Linked DNA regions of Homo sapiens: all the other regions are linked to region 1. The links are contacts of gene promoters, found by promoter capture Hi-C in blood cells and fetal thymus (Javierre and others, 2016). All regions are on one chromosome and are shown on one strand. Each heading gives the region's core, a stretch centred on a gene start or on the middle of the fragment in contact. The rest is flanking DNA. Distances are from core to core; before and after follow the strand shown.

Region 1 (2,536 bases), core at 21-2,520:
GTCAGTTTTATTTAAATGCCCCCTTCTCAACCGTCTGCTCCTGCCATCCAAATTGCGCTATGGCCGGACCGCTGGTTTTTGGATTTTAAAAGAAACCAACAGTTCTTTCCTTTCCCTGCGACACCTCTGCAGCAAGCTCGAGGCGAAACTTGAGGATAACAGGTTCGGGGTAAAAGGACATTTGTTCTGGAATTTTTAATTTCAGAAAAAAATAAAATATTTTAAACAGCTCGTCTATTTTAAAAAATAAAATAGCAGAGAAAAAATTAGCATCCAGAAGTCACACATTTCATACATTTTAAATACATTAAGGAGCATTTGGAGAATCCCAGGAAGATGTTTTCTGCAAAGCTTGGGTTTAAAAGGTCACAAGTAATCTGCAATTAAAAAAATAAAACCAAAACATTGCATATACAGAAATCTTCCAAAGAGGAAAGGCCAAGGCTCACTCAGCCTGGAGACCCCGATTCACCAGCTTTTGGGCTTCTTGTCTTCATCAAGTTGGTGCTACAAGGGTCCACCGGCCATCTACTGTTTCTGACCTGTCGCCGCTCTTCAGAGCACACCCAAGGCCACCAAAAGGGGCATTTAAACAACCTAACGATCAACACCGAAAAGCTAAAGGCTCCCTAAGCGAAAACGGGCCTTTTTCTGGAAGCAGGGAGGGAGGGAGGGAGAGACAGCCCTGGCTAGATGTTTAACGCTCTTTGAGGCAGCAGGCCTCAGAGTTATGCCCTCTCCTTCCTTCCTCTCCAAATTGACAATTCCAGGCCACTGGCCCCCGAACACCAAACATCCAAATCAGGGCCCAATGCCCTTAGTAAGTGCCTGACGGGAGCATCCTTACCTTGCACGGCCTTTTCCGGGTCGGCGCGGCTGGTCAGCGGAGCAGGCAAGCTCTGCGCGGCTCCCAGCAACCGCATTTTGCACGGGCTCCTCCGGCCCAGGATGCTGTCGATGCAGTAGGAGGAGAGCAAAGTTGGAGATTTACTTTTGCACTCGGGCCTCTCGGAGCAGCCCTCCTCCTGGTACTGATTGCTCATGGCTGGGGCTTTTTCCCAGGGCGCAGAGAGCGGATCGCCGGCTGCCTCTCCCGGAGGGTGGGATGGATGGGTGTGTGTTGGGGGTGGGGTTAGATAGCGGGTTATAACGGATATTATTGCGATCTTTGTGCCTTTCTGCCTCCCTTGGTTGCCGGCTGCCGGCTCCCGCCCTGCCCGCGGCCCGAGCTCGCCCTCTCCGCGCTCAGGACAAGCGGTAACAAGTGTAGTGAGCAGCGGGCGCTGAGCTCTGGAGTCTCTCTCCTCCACGTGCTGAGAGGCGCCCTCTGATTGGCTCTCGCCAGAGGCCGGGCTGCGTCGGCCTGTGGGCGCGGCGCAAAGCCCGGACTGGATTCCAGAGGGGCAGGCGGGGGTGGGGGCAGCGGGCACGCACCAGAGCCAATTTTCCTTTTCTTTCTTTCTTTTTTTAAGTTACCAATTTTCTAAGTCCGCTATCCTCTTCCTGCAGCTCCTCCTTTGACCCTTTAGTGTTGGCCGAAGTTCTAGCTTATTGGGATGCCAGGCCTGTGAATGCCATCTGGGTGGCGTGCGCCCCTTCCACCAACCCGAGGACCTCGCTCCCTGGAGGCGAGGCCTCGAGGCTCACGTTCAGACTCACTCGGCACTTTTCAAAGCCGATATTGGGCTCCCAGGACACCGCCTTGACCTCCCTGGCGCTCAATTGCCGTCCTCTCTAGGCCGGACGGGCGTCGGGGGGCCAGGGTGACCGCCCCAAGCAAACATCTGCCGTCTGGGAGTTCGCTTTTCTCTTGCGGCCCAAGGCATTGCGCTGTCTATCTTCACCCTGAGCCCGACTGTGTCTCTCTTGTTTGTAGCGTCCCCCAACCGCTCTCCTCTCCGTTTTAAACTCTGGAATGGGAAAAAGCCTCCTTACAGACAAAGCTCTGCCATAGGCGCGCGGCCTTCCCTAGAGCATTTACTGGGTGGGAAGGGACAGGCGAGTATCAGCAGCGAGGAGGGGCGACTGGGGACGAGTCTGGGGGCCTCCTCTTTCTCCCTGGACTCTCTTCCCTCTTTCCCCCACAAATTCGTATCTGTTAGGCCTTCACCCTGAGGCTGTTCACCTTCCAATCGCAGCTAGGGAGCAGAACCCTCAGGGATCCCTGACCTCTCCAGGGTGGAAGGAACCCAAATTCGGCTGCAGCCAAATCTAAGCGTCTAAAATTCTGAATTCTCATGACCTGGCTCCCTTGAGCAAAGGTGAGAGAGTGAACCTTAGAGAGAGCGCCTTTCTTCCCAAACAGTTTCCAGCGCCGAGAACTAAAACCCAACTCCAACTGATGTTGGGTCGAGCCTGGGCCAGCACGGACGCCTTCCCTGCCTGGGTGCAGGTTCCCAGGGATTTCCAGGGGCCCCAACGCTGGCAGAATTGGGGCGAAGGTGGTGGGTGAGAGAGGGGCCAGGGAGGGGGAATCCACGCCGGGTTTTCCTCTCTCAACTCCCTTCAATGTGTCAAAGAGAAAAGCATTTTACAA
Region 2 (2,536 bases), core at 15-2,514, 320 kb before region 1:
AGTTATACCCGGGCATGTGGGAAGTAATCAGCTGTGAAATTGTTAAGGTAAGGATTTGGTTCTTATTAATGACTAGCCAACATGGTTCTCTCCTGGTTGGAAAAAGCTTGATAATAAAACTATAAAACTTCCATCAGTTTTTAAAAGGGAAGTGTAGGAATAAATCTGTCGTAGTACTTTAAATAGGAAGTTATGTCTAAGTGTAAATTACTACATGTTATGTATCACAACATATGGATCACATAACATGATATTAAATGATTATGAAGCTGAAAGACATTTTCTAAACAATCAGAAATTAAGAAACAAGTATTGATCAACCATGCTAGAAGACAGATTGAATTATCTTTATATCCTCTTTGGAGAAAATATTACAAAATTGTTGTCACATGAAGAAGGGATCAATAAGCATGTGGGCAATAATGTAGGAAAAAATACAAATGTGTGGCAGGCATTATTTAATAAAAATGTTATACCTTTTTGGAAAGAGATAACATGAGATGTACACATTACAGCCATTGTATCATACACAAAAATTGAATACCCTTTTTGTTTTTCATAACATTGAAATTTTGGAGTTCACGTCAGGTGTTTTGTAGATTGTCCTACATTTTGAATACATCTGATTGTTTCTTCATGGTTAGATTCAGGTTAGACATTTTTTGCAAGAAGACCATATAGGCGAAGTTTTTCCTTTTTCATACGCATTACATCAGGAGGCATATGAGATCAGATGGCCATTTATTGGTAATGCTACTTCTGGTTATTTGGTTAAGACGGAGCATATATCTTTAAGTTGTTAATCACACAGCCACTGTATCCAGACTGCTGAGAAGCAAACTATCAGGCAAAATTCAGGGCGCGCAGCAGGAGGCAGTCGCTTTCCCGGCTCTGGGGAAAACGATCCAACCACGCCCACTCTCCTGCCCGCCCGCGCCTCCTTTCCGGGAAAATGGGCTCTGAGAACCAGAGCGCCCTTTCTCCCACGCGCCCAAATCTTTTCCCATCAGCATGCGTGCGCTTGCGCAGTCTCCAGGCGGCTCCTTTCCAGCGCCCGACCGCTTCTTTCTCCTGCTCTCCTCCGGCTTCCCCTCAGCTCTAGCTTTTCCCTAAGGGGTCATCACAGGGCGCCAAACGCGCGTCCGCGGGAAGGCCGGGGGCGGAGCGCGGCGCGGCGCGGCACGTCAGTGGCCTTCCGGCCGGAAGTCCGCAGCCTCCCGAGCCGCTGATTGGCTTTCAGGCTGGCGCCTGTCTCGGCCCCCGCGCCAGTTTTGGGCTGGTTGGCGCGGAATCGGGAGATTCGGGACCATGGCACCTGTGCACGGCGACGACTGTGAGATAGGGGCGAGTGGTGAGGGACAATTCCGCGCGCGGGGCTCCGGGTTGGGACAGTGGCATGATTGCCGGTGGTGGGGGTTCTGAGGGAGGCGCACACCCGGGTTTGTTTGGGCGCAGACCTTGGTCGTCCCCGGCGGGGGCCCTTCTGGCGTCGGACCGGGCTTCCTTTAGGCGCGGTTTGCTCTTGGAGGACCAGAGCCTGGAGGGATTTTTGTTTGGGAGGCTGTCTCACCTCTGCCACTGAGAGTCTCCACAGTCGATTGCGTTTCTATTTCTTTTGGTGAGTTGCACCCACGTGCTGGGTATAACTTTATTGAGACTGGCCCCGTGGGGCCGAAAGTATTTCACTGCGATCTCCCTAAGTATCCACTTGAAGGCTTGAACAGAACAGATCTGTGTCCCTTTTTGTAGGAACTTCCAGGAAAATTTTATACATTGTAACTAAGCAGGAAAGAAAGCTCTAAGTGCTGTCATCGGGGAATAACGCGTTTTGTATTTTTAGGTAATGGGTTTCTACTTTATGCATTAACAATTTTTCTTTCAGATTCTTTGGAAAGTTCTTCAAGTGCTGCGTAGAAATCCTGTTCACAATCTAGTCATTCCTGGTGAAGTTTCAAAAAAATGGCATCAATTTAGGGCATTTCGGATCCCCTGTATATCACTCCGTTTGTCAGGGGTGTCTTTTATTTCCAAAAATAGAATACAAAAATGCAAATAGATTTGTCTGATTTTTTAAGTGTTCAACTAAAGCGTGACTTCAGTTAACTTCTAACTTAAAATCAGATGCTTCACTTTGTTAGCTCAAGCGTCACCTCTCCTGTCATTCAGATACATCACCATTAATGAGAACTCGCTTCCTAATCAGCTTCCTTTGCATTCACCTAGTTGTGAGTCACAGATTTCAATTTGTTCTAGCCGTTCGTTTTTTAAGACTATTTTGGAGAGTCGACCTGCCTGGATTACAGATAGGATGTTGGGTGTAAGTATGTGAACGAACAGTCTTTGCAGGCCTCTATCAGTGATTTGCCACTAAGCCCTTTCTTCATCCTAAAAACTACGTCATCTATGAACATCAGGAAATCACTTTGGAGGATACTGTGCAATCTTGAGACTCCTCTTAGGTCATGGTGTTCATTAAGTAGTTGCTGGGGACTTGTGACTGGAATTTTTCCTTTAGAGCAGACTGAAGGATTGTTAC
Region 3 (2,536 bases), core at 28-2,527, 280 kb before region 1:
TATTTTTTTTTAAGCTGGCTTACTAACAGCTTGATTTGAATTTCCTTATTTTTTCTCCAGCTATTGGATCAGTAACTTGTTTTTCAAAAATTGTTTTCAAGAATAGTGCATATTGTTAAAGAGGGTTTTGTTTTTTTTTGTTTTTTTTTTTTTTGCCATGGAAACTAAGTTTTATTGGGTTGGTTGCCTCCTATTCAGCTGGTTCATTTTTTTTTTTCTAGGAGAAGTCTGGAGTCTATTTGACATCTTTTTTTTGTTTCAATGGTTGCTCTACTGAGGTTGAGTAGTTTTTTCCTGGGTCAAAATTAGACTTTATTTTCTGATGTCATTCTAATAGCCTATCATAGAAGCTTGATCAAAGTTTTCTGTGTGATGAGGCAAGATGCCAAGGAATAAATATTTACCTATTTGGGAGGAGTTATAGTAATAAGAATTGGAGTTGGGTTGTGCTATGCATAAAATTCAATGGATGAAACAATTCCACCAAGTTCTGCATATGTGTTTTATGAGTCAGTCTCCAAGGAGGATTCTGATATATTCCATGTTGAGAGCTTGGCCAGTTACCTAAGCATTTTGCTGTTTTTTAAAAAAGGGAATAATACCATTGACCTATTATATTTCCTGGGATCTTTTTCAGCCCAGAAGCAGAGATTAACTTGGCGAGCCTCTCGTCTGGTTTTCTTGGGTGTTAGGAAAGTAGGACTAAAACATGCAGAGAAGGGAGTATGAGATATGATTGTTGTGAAGTTTTCCCCCTTAAGTGGGTGGAACACATGGAACAAAATGGTGATGAGAATAGCCTGGAAAATATGTAGAAGAGAGCAATCATGAGTTCATTTCAACACGCATTTATTCACTTCCTCTATGTACGTCACTATGTGAACAGCTGTTGTGTATGGTAAGGAACTTACAGTGTGTAATAGGGGAAGCTTTGGTCAATTTTACCTTTTCAGAAGGCTGAACTGAGTTTCTCCGCTGTATGTTGCTTGCGGCATTGGTGGTGGTGGGATTTCCTTTGAGGAAGACTGCTAAAATCTTCCATTCTGGCTTCAGTGGATAGATAGCAAATGTTTCATCAAAGCAGTTTTAACAACTGCAGGGACTTAGGGTTCTGTGCTTGACCATTCTTTTGAGGTCATCAACATGACCAGTGGAAGTATTTGATGACCCTCCTAATTCTTTAGGGTTGGGGGGAATATATTTAAGACAGTTTCGTTTGGAAACATGTACTATATGATTACCTGAAATTAGACTAAGATGGGTGTTGGAATCTTTATTTTTTTTCCTTTTTACAGTTGTGTCTAAACCAAAGGACTGTATTTTTCCATATGCTTTCAAAGAAGTCATTGAGAAAAAGGTAAAGTGCTCATTATATGAAGCACCTGTTTGTTTGGAGCGAGAAAGAAAAGGGGGGTGGTATGGACTAGTAGAAAAAAGGTGTTTTATATTTTATTAGATTCATTCCTGCCAGATTGGACTATGACATCGACCCATTAAAATGTATTAGACATACACCTAGAAGCATTATTTAACAATGTTTAAATGTTTTACTACCTGAAAATAATGGGATTCTGTACTGTATTGGTGGTTGGATAGGCTCAAACCCCCCTCCAATAGCTTAATTAGAAGCTTCTCTAAAATGCATGATCATATGATTCCTGTTTTGGGAAGGTGTTGGGTAGAGTCCCTCCCCAGCTTGAGGGAAGCTAAATGAAGTTGGGAATACTGTGGACGTTAAAGAGCCATGTATTGACAAAGTTGACATGGGGTTGGCCAAAATGGATCAGTGATCTCTAAATTCCAGCGTGCTCCATGAAGAAGTTTTCATGGGTCCTTAATAAAATGGGGAGGAGTGGGAAGTAGTATAATGTAGTGAATTTTTCACAAAGGTAAATGTATTCAATTAAAAGAATTTTCTTTTATGGATTGTATGTTGTTTCTTTTACGAAGTGATGATATTGATACGTTTTTAGGTTTGTTTTGTTTTTTAATGTCTTCATCTGACAAAAGTAAGCAACCTTGTCAGGTTCTACTTATTTTATTTAATTGGCTTGAGAAGTCCAGTAGTTGGGAGGTACTGTTAGATTAGGCTATTATTTGTGAAGTGCCGTGAATTACCTAACCAGGTAAAATGACCTAGGAAAATTCCATTAGAGTCAAACCGACTTTTTTTTTGAGACGGAGTCCCGCTTTGTTGCCCAGGCTGGAGTGCATTGGCGTGATATTGGCTCACTGCAGCCTCCACTCCCTAGTTCAAGGGATTCTCGTGCCTCAGCCTCCTGAGTATCTGGGATTACAGGCTCGTGGCACCACGCCCAGCTAATTTTTGTATTTTTAGTAGAGACAGGGTTTCACCATATTGACCAGGATGGTCTCAAGCTCCTGACCTCAAGTGATTCACCCGCCTCAGCCTCCCAAAGTGCTGGGATTACAGGTGTGAGCCACTGCGCCCAGCCACTTATAATTCTTAAATATGTTTGTTTTTAGTCTAGTTTCTTATTTATCAGTTCTCATCTTACCATTTGGGATTATTTTA

Evidence for each region. Contacts are between HindIII fragments. The CHiCAGO score rates a contact against its expected background, and 5 or more counts as called.
Region 2: a contact is called between the fragment with the promoter of POLA1 here and the fragment with the promoter of ARX in region 1, in 2 of 17 cell types (fetal thymus and monocytes). The highest score is 5.5, in fetal thymus.
Region 3: a contact is called between a fragment that was not itself captured here and the fragment with the promoter of ARX in region 1, in 1 of 17 cell types (M2 macrophages). The highest score is 5.8, in M2 macrophages.

Annotation. Positions count from the first base shown.
Region 1 is chrX:25,014,695-25,017,230 of GRCh38, forward strand. ARX (aristaless related homeobox) reads right to left here and starts at 1,271. Exons shown (of 5, transcript NM_139058.3): 1 at 848-1,271. The coding sequence starts at 1,043. The HindIII fragment of the contact is 5,488 bases long and covers 350-2,536 here.
Region 2 is chrX:24,692,654-24,695,189 of GRCh38, forward strand. It overlaps POLA1 (DNA polymerase alpha 1, catalytic subunit), which reads left to right and starts at 1,265. Exons shown (of 37, transcript NM_001330360.2): 1 at 1,265-1,351. The coding sequence starts at 1,309. RefSeq lists a silencer at 1,087-1,246 and an enhancer at 1,437-1,526. The HindIII fragment of the contact is 2,747 bases long and covers 105-2,536 here.
Region 3 is chrX:24,732,460-24,734,995 of GRCh38, forward strand. POLA1 (DNA polymerase alpha 1, catalytic subunit) reads left to right here. Exons shown (of 37, transcript NM_001330360.2): 17 at 1,296-1,357. Among named protein-coding and RNA genes, the nearest start is that of POLA1, 40 kb to the left of the region's middle. The HindIII fragment of the contact is 700 bases long and covers 928-1,627 here.